Linked DNA regions of Homo sapiens: region 1 is linked to region 2. The links are contacts of gene promoters, found by promoter capture Hi-C in human tissues and cell types (Jung and others, 2019). All regions are on one chromosome and are shown on one strand. Each heading gives the region's core, a stretch centred on a gene start or on the middle of the fragment in contact. The rest is flanking DNA. Distances are from core to core; before and after follow the strand shown.

Evidence for each region. The method cuts DNA at HindIII sites, captures the fragments that hold promoters and counts their contacts. A contact is called where the count stands out against the background at its distance.
Region 1: a contact is called between a fragment that was not itself captured here and the fragment with the promoter of ISL2 in region 2, in 1 of the 25 tissues and cell types used here (lymphoblastoid cells).

What each region holds. Positions count from the first base shown.
Region 1 is chr15:77,428,489-77,433,247 of GRCh38, reverse strand. All of the region lies in intron 1 of HMG20A (high mobility group 20A), which reads right to left. Among named protein-coding and RNA genes, the nearest start is that of HMG20A, 10 kb to the right of the region's middle. RefSeq lists an enhancer at 2,799-2,898. The HindIII fragment of the contact is 8,562 bases long and covers 1-4,759 here.
Region 2 is chr15:76,332,680-76,338,056 of GRCh38, reverse strand. It overlaps ISL2 (ISL LIM homeobox 2), which reads right to left and starts at 1,284. Exons shown (of 6, transcript NM_145805.3): 1 at 1,116-1,284; 2 at 90-279. The coding sequence starts at 1,173. RefSeq lists enhancers at 1-775, 1,201-1,250, 944-1,443, 1,255-1,549. The HindIII fragment of the contact is 8,596 bases long and covers 1-5,377 here.

The sequences.
Region 1 (4,759 bases), core at 1,909-4,408, 1.1 Mb before region 2:
ACCTCCCGAGTAGCTAGGACTATAGGTGCACGCTATCATGCCCGGTTAATTTTTAAAATGTTCTTGTAGAGACAGGGTCTTGAACTCCTGGACTTAAATGATTCTCTAGCTTTGGCCTCCTGAAGTGCTGATGTTACAGGCATTAGCCACCATGCCCAGCCAAAATTTTAAATACTGAATTCAATTTACTTAACAGATAAAAACAGTATTCAGATATTCTATTTCTTCATGTCAATTTTTTATATGCCAATTTTAATAAAGCATTTAACAATTTGTCCATTTCATCTAAAATTTCAAATCTGTCTATGTAAGGTTGTTCATAGTATCTTCCTACCTTTTTGACATCTGTAGAATCTGTAAAGAAATTTTCCCTTTTCATTCCTGATACTGGTAATTTATGCTCTTTTTTTTTTCTTTATCAATATTGCTAGAGGTCTATGCATTTTACTAATCTTTTTAAGGAACCAACTTTTGGTCTTGTTATTTCCTAATGCCAATTTGTTGTCTTTTTTTTTTTTTTTTTTTGAGTCGGAGTTTCGCTCTTGTTGCCCAGGTTGGAGTGCAATGGCGCGATCTCGGCTTACTGCAACCTCCGCCTCCAGGGTTCAAGTGATTCTCCTGCCTCAGCCTCCTGAGTAGCTGGGATTACAGGCACCTGCCACTACGCCCAGCTAATTTTTGTATTTTTAATAGAGATGGGCTTTTGCCATGTTGGCCAAGCTGGTCTCAAACTCCTGACCTCAGGTGATCCACCCACCTCGGCCTCCCAAGGTGCTGAGATTACAGGCGTGAGCCACTGCGACTGGCCAACAATTTGTTTTCTATTTCATTGATTTCTATTTTTTTATTATTTCCTTTCTTCTACTTACTTTGGGTTTAATTTGCTGTTCTTTTCCTACCTTGATGGGTATTTAGATAACTGATTTTTTACTTTTTTCTATTCTAATATATGCATTTAAGGCTATAAATTTTTCATTGAGTATATCTTTAACTGATTCACATGTATTTTCATAATCACGCTGTTGTAAATGTGTTCTAATTGCCATCGTGATTTCTAGATTGGCAGTTATTTTCTTTAAGGAACTTAAAGGTTGCATTCTCTGAGAATATATCCAAGGGAAATGAAATCACTATGTTGAAAAGATATCTGCACTCTCAGGGTTATTGCCAGATTATTCACAATAGCCAAGATATGGAATCAGCCTCAGTATCCATCAACAGATGAACACAGAAAATGTGGTATATACGCACAATGGAATACTATTCAGCTTTAAAAAAAGGAAGGAAATCCTGTCATTTGCAACAAAATGAATGAGCCTGGAGGGCATTATCTGTTAAGTGAAATTAGCCTGGCACTGACAAATACCATATGATCTCATATGTGGAATCTAGAAAACCTGAACTCATGGAAGTATAGAGTAGAATGGTAGTTACCAGGGGTGGGGTGGGGCTGGGAAGATGTTGGTCAAAGGACACAAAATTTCAGTTTGATAGGAGGAATAAGTTTGAGATATCTATTGTACAACATGTTAACTATAGTTAATAACAATGTATTATATTCTTGAAAATTGCTAAGAGAGTAGATGCTCAGTGTTTTTACCACATAAATTGTGTGAGGTAATACATATGTTAATTAGCGCAATTTAGCTATTCCACAATGTATACATATTTCAAAACATCATGCTGTACATGATAAATACATATAATTTTTGTCAATTAAAAAAACAAAAAAAACCAGCTGGGCATGGTAGCTCATGCCTGTAATTCTAGCACTTTGGAAGGCCAAGGCAGGCAAATCACCTGAGGTCAGGACTTCGAGACCAGCCTGGCCAACATGGTGAAACCTTGTCTCTACTAAAAATACAAAAATTAGCTGGGTGTGGTGGCATGCACCTGTAATCCCAGCTACTTGGAAGGCTGAGGCAGGAGAATCGCTTGAACACAGGAGGCAAAGGTTGCAGTGAGCTGAGATCACGCCACTGCATTCCAGCCTGGGTGACAGAGGGAGACTCCATCTCAAAATAAAATAAAATAAAATAAAAAATAAATAAACCAAGTAGGTAAAAGCAAAAAAACAAACAAAAAAGTTACATTGTATTGTTTTCTGGCCCCCATTATTTCTGTTGACAAGTCAGATGTCAGTCTAATTGTTCCTTTGAAGATTATGTGTCTTTTTTCCTCTGGTTACTTTCAACAGTTTTATTTTTACTATGAAGAATGAAAGTGTGGTACTCCTTGTATTTATTCTGCTTGTCGTTTCTTGCACTTTTCAAATCCATGGCTTGATATTTGTCATCGGTTTTAGAAAATTCTCAATCACTGTCTCTTAAAATATTACTGCTTCTAACTTTCTCTCCTCCAGTCATATGTATGTTAGACTTCTTCATCATTTCCTCATGTCTCTGTAATAGTTTCATATTGTTGCTGTCACAAGTTATCCAAAGCTATTGGCTTAAAGCAATACAAATTAACTTTCTTACAGTTCTAGACTCTGCCTAGCAAACACTGTGAGGGGAAAACAAGTTTTAAAAAAGTTTCTGGGTACTGTCCTTCTCTAGGGATCTTGACCCAAGAACTAGCTACCTGGAGATCTCTAAAATCCAAGTTTTGTCTGCTCCGCCCCATAAAACTAACAGCTTCTCTGCTTTTAGAAGAAACCCTCTGCTAAGTTTCACAGCATCTTGTCATGCTCTAAGAATTAGCAAATTCCTAGGAAAAAAGAGAAGCATGGAACATCAGCCCACTTCTCTGAAGCTCCTTTGGTTCTATGGTTGTGGTTTCTTAAGTCCTGGATGCCTCAGCAGGTCTCTGATGCCTTCACTTTTCTTTTTAATTCTCATCTTTCCTGTTCTTAGCAAAAGCATTAGTCTGCAGCAACCTCATCTCTCAGAGTCATAAGTGGAAACCATAGCTTGGGCTCTGAATAAAAACTCTACTGCTTATTAGTTAAGTGATTCGGCAAGTTATTTAACCTAGAGTATTTAAACATTTGAAGTTTCAATTTTCTTTCATGTAAAATGAACGTTAACACTATCTAATGAGGTTACTGTGAGGATGTGAAGATTAAATGAGACATATTTATAAAATGTCTGATAACAAAAACATTCTTATTGTAGGTTTTGTATGTGCCAAATACTTTATATAGATTTAATAATTTAATGTAGACATAGTTATCCTCCATTTCCTTTTCAAGACCACATATTAGTAAGTGATGAAGCTCAGATTTGATTCTAGAACACCAGTTTTCAATAACTACAAATTGTTGCTTCTATAATGTTGCTTGAGTATTGTTCCTGACACAAGTAAGTGGTCAGTAAATGTAAATTATTATTATATAGAAAATATAAATGCTTCAGAAATAGACACCAATCACATTAGTTTTTCTACTTTTTCTTCTGATGTTTCTCCTTTTCATTTTTGCAAAAACATTCTTACAACATCTTTCAATGTATTCTTAAAGACGCTATTGTGAAAAATGAATGTCTTACAGCCCACTGAGTAGATAGGCAATAATTTGCTTAGGCATTATTATATTGTTGAATATTTAGAAGGTTTCAAGTTTTAGACAGTATAGATATCAGTGCTATTAACATTTTGTGCCTTTAACTATTTTTCTTATTTAAAGTATTTTCTCAGAATGAAGTTCTATATGTGGAATTATTGGCTCAAAAGTATGAACATTTTATTATTTGTTGATATAACTGCTACTGTTATTAAGCCAAAAAGTTATGATAATTATGATGCCATCAAGCAACAAACATGAAGGTTTGTATCAAGAGAACAGGAATTAAAGCTATGAAGTATAGGAATGAAGGACATGTGGACATGGGGGAAAAAAAGGAGATATGAATTTTGAGGCTGGAAAAGAAAAAATGGGGTGCTGGAAATCATTTCTTTTGAAGCAGGCAAGCGCTAGTAATCCCAGCTACTTGGGAGGCTGAGGCAGGAGAATTGCATGAGCTCACTAGCGCCACTGCACTCCAGCCTGGGAGACAGAGCAAGACTCCGTCTCAAAAAAACAAAAAAAACAAAAAAACCCACCATATTAAATTATTATTATTTTGTTTAGTAGAGATGGGGTCTTGCTATGTTGCCTGTGTTAGTCTCAAACTCCTGGCCTCAAGCAATCCTCCTGTCTCAGCCTCCCAAAGTGTTGAGATTATAGATACAAACCACTGTGCCCGGCCAACATATTATTTAAAAATTATACATATAAATTGCAAAACAACCACACAGATTAAAGGCCTATGTTCTAGAGGCTCCCCCCTCCTTTTTTTTTTTTTTTGAGACAGAGTCTTGCTCTGTAGCCCAGGTTGGAGTGCAGTGGCTCGATAACAGCTCACAGCCTTGAACTCCTGGGCTTATGCGATCCTCTGGCCTCAGCCTCCTGAGTAGCTATGACCACATGTGTATATACCACCATGTCTGGCTATTTTTTATTTTTTTGTAGAGACAGCATCTCACTATGTTACCCAAGCCGGTCCCAAACTCCTGAGCTAAGGCGATCCTTCTGCCTTGGCTTCCCAAAGTGTTGGGATTACAGAAGCCACCACACCCAGCCTAGAGTCCACTTATTTGGTGTGTAATCTCGAGCCTTGAATTGCCTTATCTATAAATTGGGATTAAATTTTATAATATCCGACTAAAGCCAGAATTGGAACATCGTATCTCTTGTTTTATATTCCTGATATTAAATTTGTTTTGTGAGTATACCATACTTCAATAAAAATGAAGGAATCTCTCCTTTTTTGCTGATATG
Region 2 (5,377 bases), core at 35-2,534:
GGGCCGGGGCGCGCGGGCAGGCCGCCATCCCCAGTCCCGGCCCCGGCCCCTGCGCGCGGTGGCCCAGCCCGCGTTCCCGCCGGCCTCACCTGACATAGTCCCGCTTGCAGTAGGTCTTCCCGTCTCTCACGAAGCACGTGCACGTCTCGTCCAGGTACTGGCTGCACTCGGCACACTTGAGGCAGGCCGCGTGCCACTCGAGGTCGGGCGACACCCGCAGGATAAACTGGTCGTGGATCTGACTCCCGCAGCCCACGCACATGGCCGTCCCGGGCTTCTCTGCCGGGGAAGGGCGCGGGGCCGCGTCAGGCCTGACTGCCCGGACCCAGGCCGGCCTCGGCTACTCCAGCCCCAACCCAACCCGCTCGCTCTCTTGCTCTTTCTTTCAAGACTTGCGACCATAAGGAAAGATGATGAGCTCTCTAAAGGTCCAGGGCATTGGAAACGAAAAACCAGTATCTTGTGGATTGCTGAAGGTTTCTTCTGTCCCCCACCCCAAATATTTCGTTATTACATTCATTAATGACAGTCGTTTTGTCGACGTGTCTTGAAACTAAACGCAAACACGAAACTAAGAAGAGAGTAAATACACAGGCACTGCGGACGCCTGGATATCAACACCTAACGGTGCTGTCCTGGCATTTCCGCTCACACACTCCCACTCACAGCGGCTGCCTCCTATCCCAACACAGACACATCGTCTTTCGGCAGTCCCCGCTCATCCTCTCAGACATTTCTTAGTTTAAATATCCCAGAGCAAGCGAAAGAAAGCTTCCTAGCTTTGAAAAACCGAAAGGCAAACAAACAACAACCAAAAAAAAAAAAACCCACATCCCTAAATCAAACCTAATTGCCTTTGCGCAAAACAGAAGCAGATTTCGCAGCCCGAAGTCATCCTAGCCGGCTTGAGAAATAGTGTTTACTTATAAAATAAAACAACAGGATTCCCAAAGATAAGCAGTCCTGCAGGAGACATGCATTCGTTTTTCCTCTCCTAAACTATTCTGACAAATAGAAGCCACTTGTAGAATCCACTAAACATTTTTCTGCATTAGAAATTTTGCATATTAAGCATACACACACACCCCACCCCACACACACACAGAAATACTTACTCTTGGAATGATCACCCATAGCACCCAGAAAAGGATAATGAAAAATAATATCCACCATGCAGAAAAAGAGATGTGCGCAAAGTGTGCGGCCAGGGGCAGAAGGACGAGGGTCGCGCGCCCGGCCTCGGCTCTTTGCTAACTAACTCCTACTGCCCCGCGGAGTTGAAGGAGCGATTCCGCACCGGCCCGCACGCAGCATGACGTCAACACGCACTAGCCCCGGGCCGGAGCTGGGGGCGGGACCTGTGGCGTCACGAAGCTTCCCCAGAACTGCCGGGGATGCGGGGGAGGTGATGGGGATCCAGGGGCTGATGGGCGGGGTGGGTTGGGTTGGAGGCTGGGGGTGAAGGGAGATTGGCTGGGAGGAAGTGGGCCAACCCTGATTGGCCCGGAGTGAACAATGGAGTGCAGCCCCCCCACCTCCGAAACCTACAAGGATCCTCTCTCATGCCCCGGGCCTGGCAATCTGGACTGGACCTTGCGTCACCGCCGAGCTGGCTCCGCGGCCGTTACAACTCTGAGCTTCCTCTTGGACTTTCGGGGCGGTTTTCCCAGGCGCGCTGGAGCTGGGTGATGGATACCTGAGGGTGGAGATGGCTCTCCTTTAAGAGCTCCCTTCTTATATAAATTAAAAAAAAAAAAATTAAACCCACTCTCAGGACGAGAGAGCCGAGGACAAGGGGGATCCGTTTGGACGTGACCGTCATCGTCCAGCTGGTCACCTTTCTCCTCTCATGTGCCTTTGTTCTTCGGGTCCAAGCTAGAGAGAGTGTAGAGAATGACCACCTGGGTTCTGATAAACTCTATTTAGACTTTCCTATCCACACACACGTAGAAAACTTTAGATTGGGGCATTACGTGGGTTGAGCCAGAACCCAGATCCAAAAGCGCTCACCCGGGACTGGGACGGGTCCTGACTCCATCCTTGCTGCTGCTGCCGCTGCTGCTGCCCCTCCTCCCTCTCCTCCACCACCACCTCCTCCTCCTGCTCCACTTCCTTTTTTTTGTTGTTTTGTTTTGCTTTTAATTTGTTGCTGTTGTTGTTTTAAATGTAACATGGACTTCCCCGCCCCCTCATTTTTCCCCCATCCAAATGGCATAGCTCCTTTTAGGAACACTGCTGGGGTCGATTGCGTGTCCAACTTCCAAAATAAAAGATTTTTCTAAACTCTTGTCCTTCATTAACAAACCCACTGCAATGCAAATAATCAGAAACGAACGTAAGGCGCTGGGTAATTTACAGTGGTATCTGCGAGGCGGCGGCTCGTTGGTCCTGAGAAAATCTGAGAGCTCTGAGCACAGTCCAGGCATTCTTTCAAAGAAATCGCTGTGGGTTTTGTTTGAAAGGGTTCAAAGACCGGCCCATGAATTATAAATAACATTTATCCAACCATGGTGTCTGTTCTTGTTTTCCCATTAAAAGGAGTACCAAGAACTTGGTGTGCGCCTGGGTGGGGCGCGAGGTGAAACGCCTGCGGATAAAGTGTCTCCACCGCCATTCCAGACCCTGCCCAGACCTTCGGGCTTGTGGGCCTGAGGGCGCGGTCGCTACTGCCGTTCTACTAAGAGCATGAGGTTGGTTGGCGTCGAAACGGATGCAGCCGAGGGCGCAGGCCGAGGCTTTGCAGAAGGCTAGGGCGAGGCCCCGAGTGCACGCTAACATTATTCGACCATGGTCCACGGTGAACGTTCCTCACCGGCCCCGCGCTGGGGCGAGCGCTTTAAGCCTCGTCCAGTAGCGTCCGGCTTTTGAGCTCCGCCTCCACCTTTAGGAGGTCTAGTCTTCTCACCGGTCCGGCTTTTTTTTTTTTTTTTTTTTTTTTTTTTTTGAGATAGACTCTTGCTGTGCCGCCCAGGCTGGAGTGTAATGGTGCGATCTCGGCTCACTGCAACCTCCGCCTCCCGGGTTCAAGCGATTCTCCTGCCTCAGCCTCCTGAGTAGCTGAGATTGCAGGCGAGCGCCACCACGCCCCGCTAATTTTTGTATTTTTAGTAGAAACCGGGTTTCACCATGTTTGTCAGGCTGGTCTCGAACTCCTGACCTCGTGATCCGCCCACCTCGGCTTCCCACAGTGCTGGGATTACAGGCGTGAGCCACCGCGCCGGGCCACCGGACCGGCTCTTGTTACAGTTTACCACCCGTTGGCCAATAGGCCATTTCTTGCGTCTTTAGTCAACAGTCCCCCAAAGAGCGCTCACCCTGAGTGTGTGCGGGCAGGTCAGGGGTTGGGGGATGCTGCGTTTGAATGAATGTGTTTATGTAAATGGGGGACAAGAGCGAGGGGGTGGGTATCTGTGCCTGAGGCTGTGCCAGGACACCTGTGTGACCTCAGGCATCTTATTTTAATTCTCCTTCCCTCAGTTTCCTCATCTGTAAAATGGGGGTATAATAATTGTAGCTATCTCTATTACATAATAATTAAATAAACTGTTCTCTGGAAAGGGCTTAGAGCAATACCTAGCACAGAGTAAGTGCTCCATATGTGTTAATTATGACAGTTATGACTGTGGCTGTATCTTTATGTTGGGAGCCTCTGCCCACCCTGCCTGCGTGTGTCTGGATGGGGAGGGGAGGTCTAAGTATGTCTCAGTATGTGTCATCTGATGATTTCTTTGTGATTTCGATGTGTGCTTGCTGTGTGTGTGTCTGCTGTGTAGATGGGGTTTGGAGATGTGTGGTCTGTGCATAGACTTTGTGTACAGGTTATATCTGTGAATGTGGGTGCACAGTCAGAACTGGGAGGGGACTCGGTGTGTGTGTCTGCATGTGGAGTGAGGAGGTGCGTCTGGCCCAATGGCCCTACCCTTAGGTGACCCTGGACTAGGCCTGGCTCCCAGCACCTACTAGCTCTTGCTCGCCAGGCCAGGAGCAAGCACATCTATAATTCAGGGGTTCAGACAGCTGGCCAGGAGGGGGCAGCCCCAGGCTGGAATCGTAGTCCCAGCTTTTAACCGTCTCCTGCCCAGAGAAACTCTTCCTTCCCGTCCAGAAAAACCTGTCCTTTGAAACTTCACTAGGGAGGTGGGGATTGGAGAGGGTCACCCCTCCTGGGATGCTAGGAAGCCAGGTCAAAACAAATATTTGTTCAGGGCCACCATGTGCAAAGTCCTTGTTGTTAGCCTATTAGGTCTTAAAAGTAATGCCATGTGGTGAGTAGTATTGGGCCCCTCCAATCCTCGAGGAAACTGAGGCTCAGAGAGGGGAAGTTACTGCCTCAGGTCACAGGTTAAATCATTGCTGGCATTGAACCCAGGTCTATCTGGCTCCATCTTGCTTGCTTTTTTCACTGTGCCATTGAAGAGCCACATGAGTGTAGCTCCATCATTCACCCATTTCACATCTCTGGAGCTGTAAAACCAGGGATCCATTTCAAAATCACTCCATGTGTGACTTCTGGTCACAGCCACCCCTGAGAGACCAGCACTGACATGGGAGAAGAAAACACCTGCACCTGCTGGGCACGGCCACAGGCACCATTGATGTGGCCCTACCCTGGTTCTCTGCCTCCTGGCTGCTCCCTTCTCAGGTATGGAGGGGCCACACACTCTCCACATCCCAGGCTGGCATGCAGGAGACCTGGGTGCCTCCTATCCTGGGTCTTAGATCACTTTCTCCTTATCAGGAATGGCAGCTTGAGCTCCATAGCTATGCTTTATCCCATAAAACTAGCCTGTACTGGGGAGAGTTCAGAAGCACAGAGAAGTCTCCCTGATTATTTTCTCCCCAAAACCTCCTCTACCACATCACTTACAAAGGCACAGCCCCATGCACAATGTCCAGCCAACACAGAGGAAGCTGTTGCTAGTGTGGGAGCATCAGTCCTACTGTGAATATCAGGAAGGAAACTGAGGCCTGGTGACCTGTTACCCAGCATGTGATGGAGATGGAGCCGGAAGCCAGGTCCCCTAACCCAGGCCAGACCTCTTCCTGCTGGACTCCCTCTGGATGATCTTCTGCTGTCCAGGGCTGAGACCTTGCTGCCCAGCTTAAGTCACTGGACCAGGCTTCTCCTCTTGCTCCAGGCTCCATCCCCCTCCATTCTCCTTCTGCCCCACTCCCAAAGGCTTTTACTCTTCTCCAAAGGTAGTTGGAGATGTTGAATACAGCAGGCCAGAGACAGCCTCAGCATCCACATCTTCACCCACCACAGGCATCTGAGAACTTGCTTTTGAGATAGGGATGGAGCACCATGTTTCAAAGAAGAAACTAAGGCCTGGGGGCAGGAAGAAACTTGGCAAGTCAAGGTCAGGCTTCAGGCTTC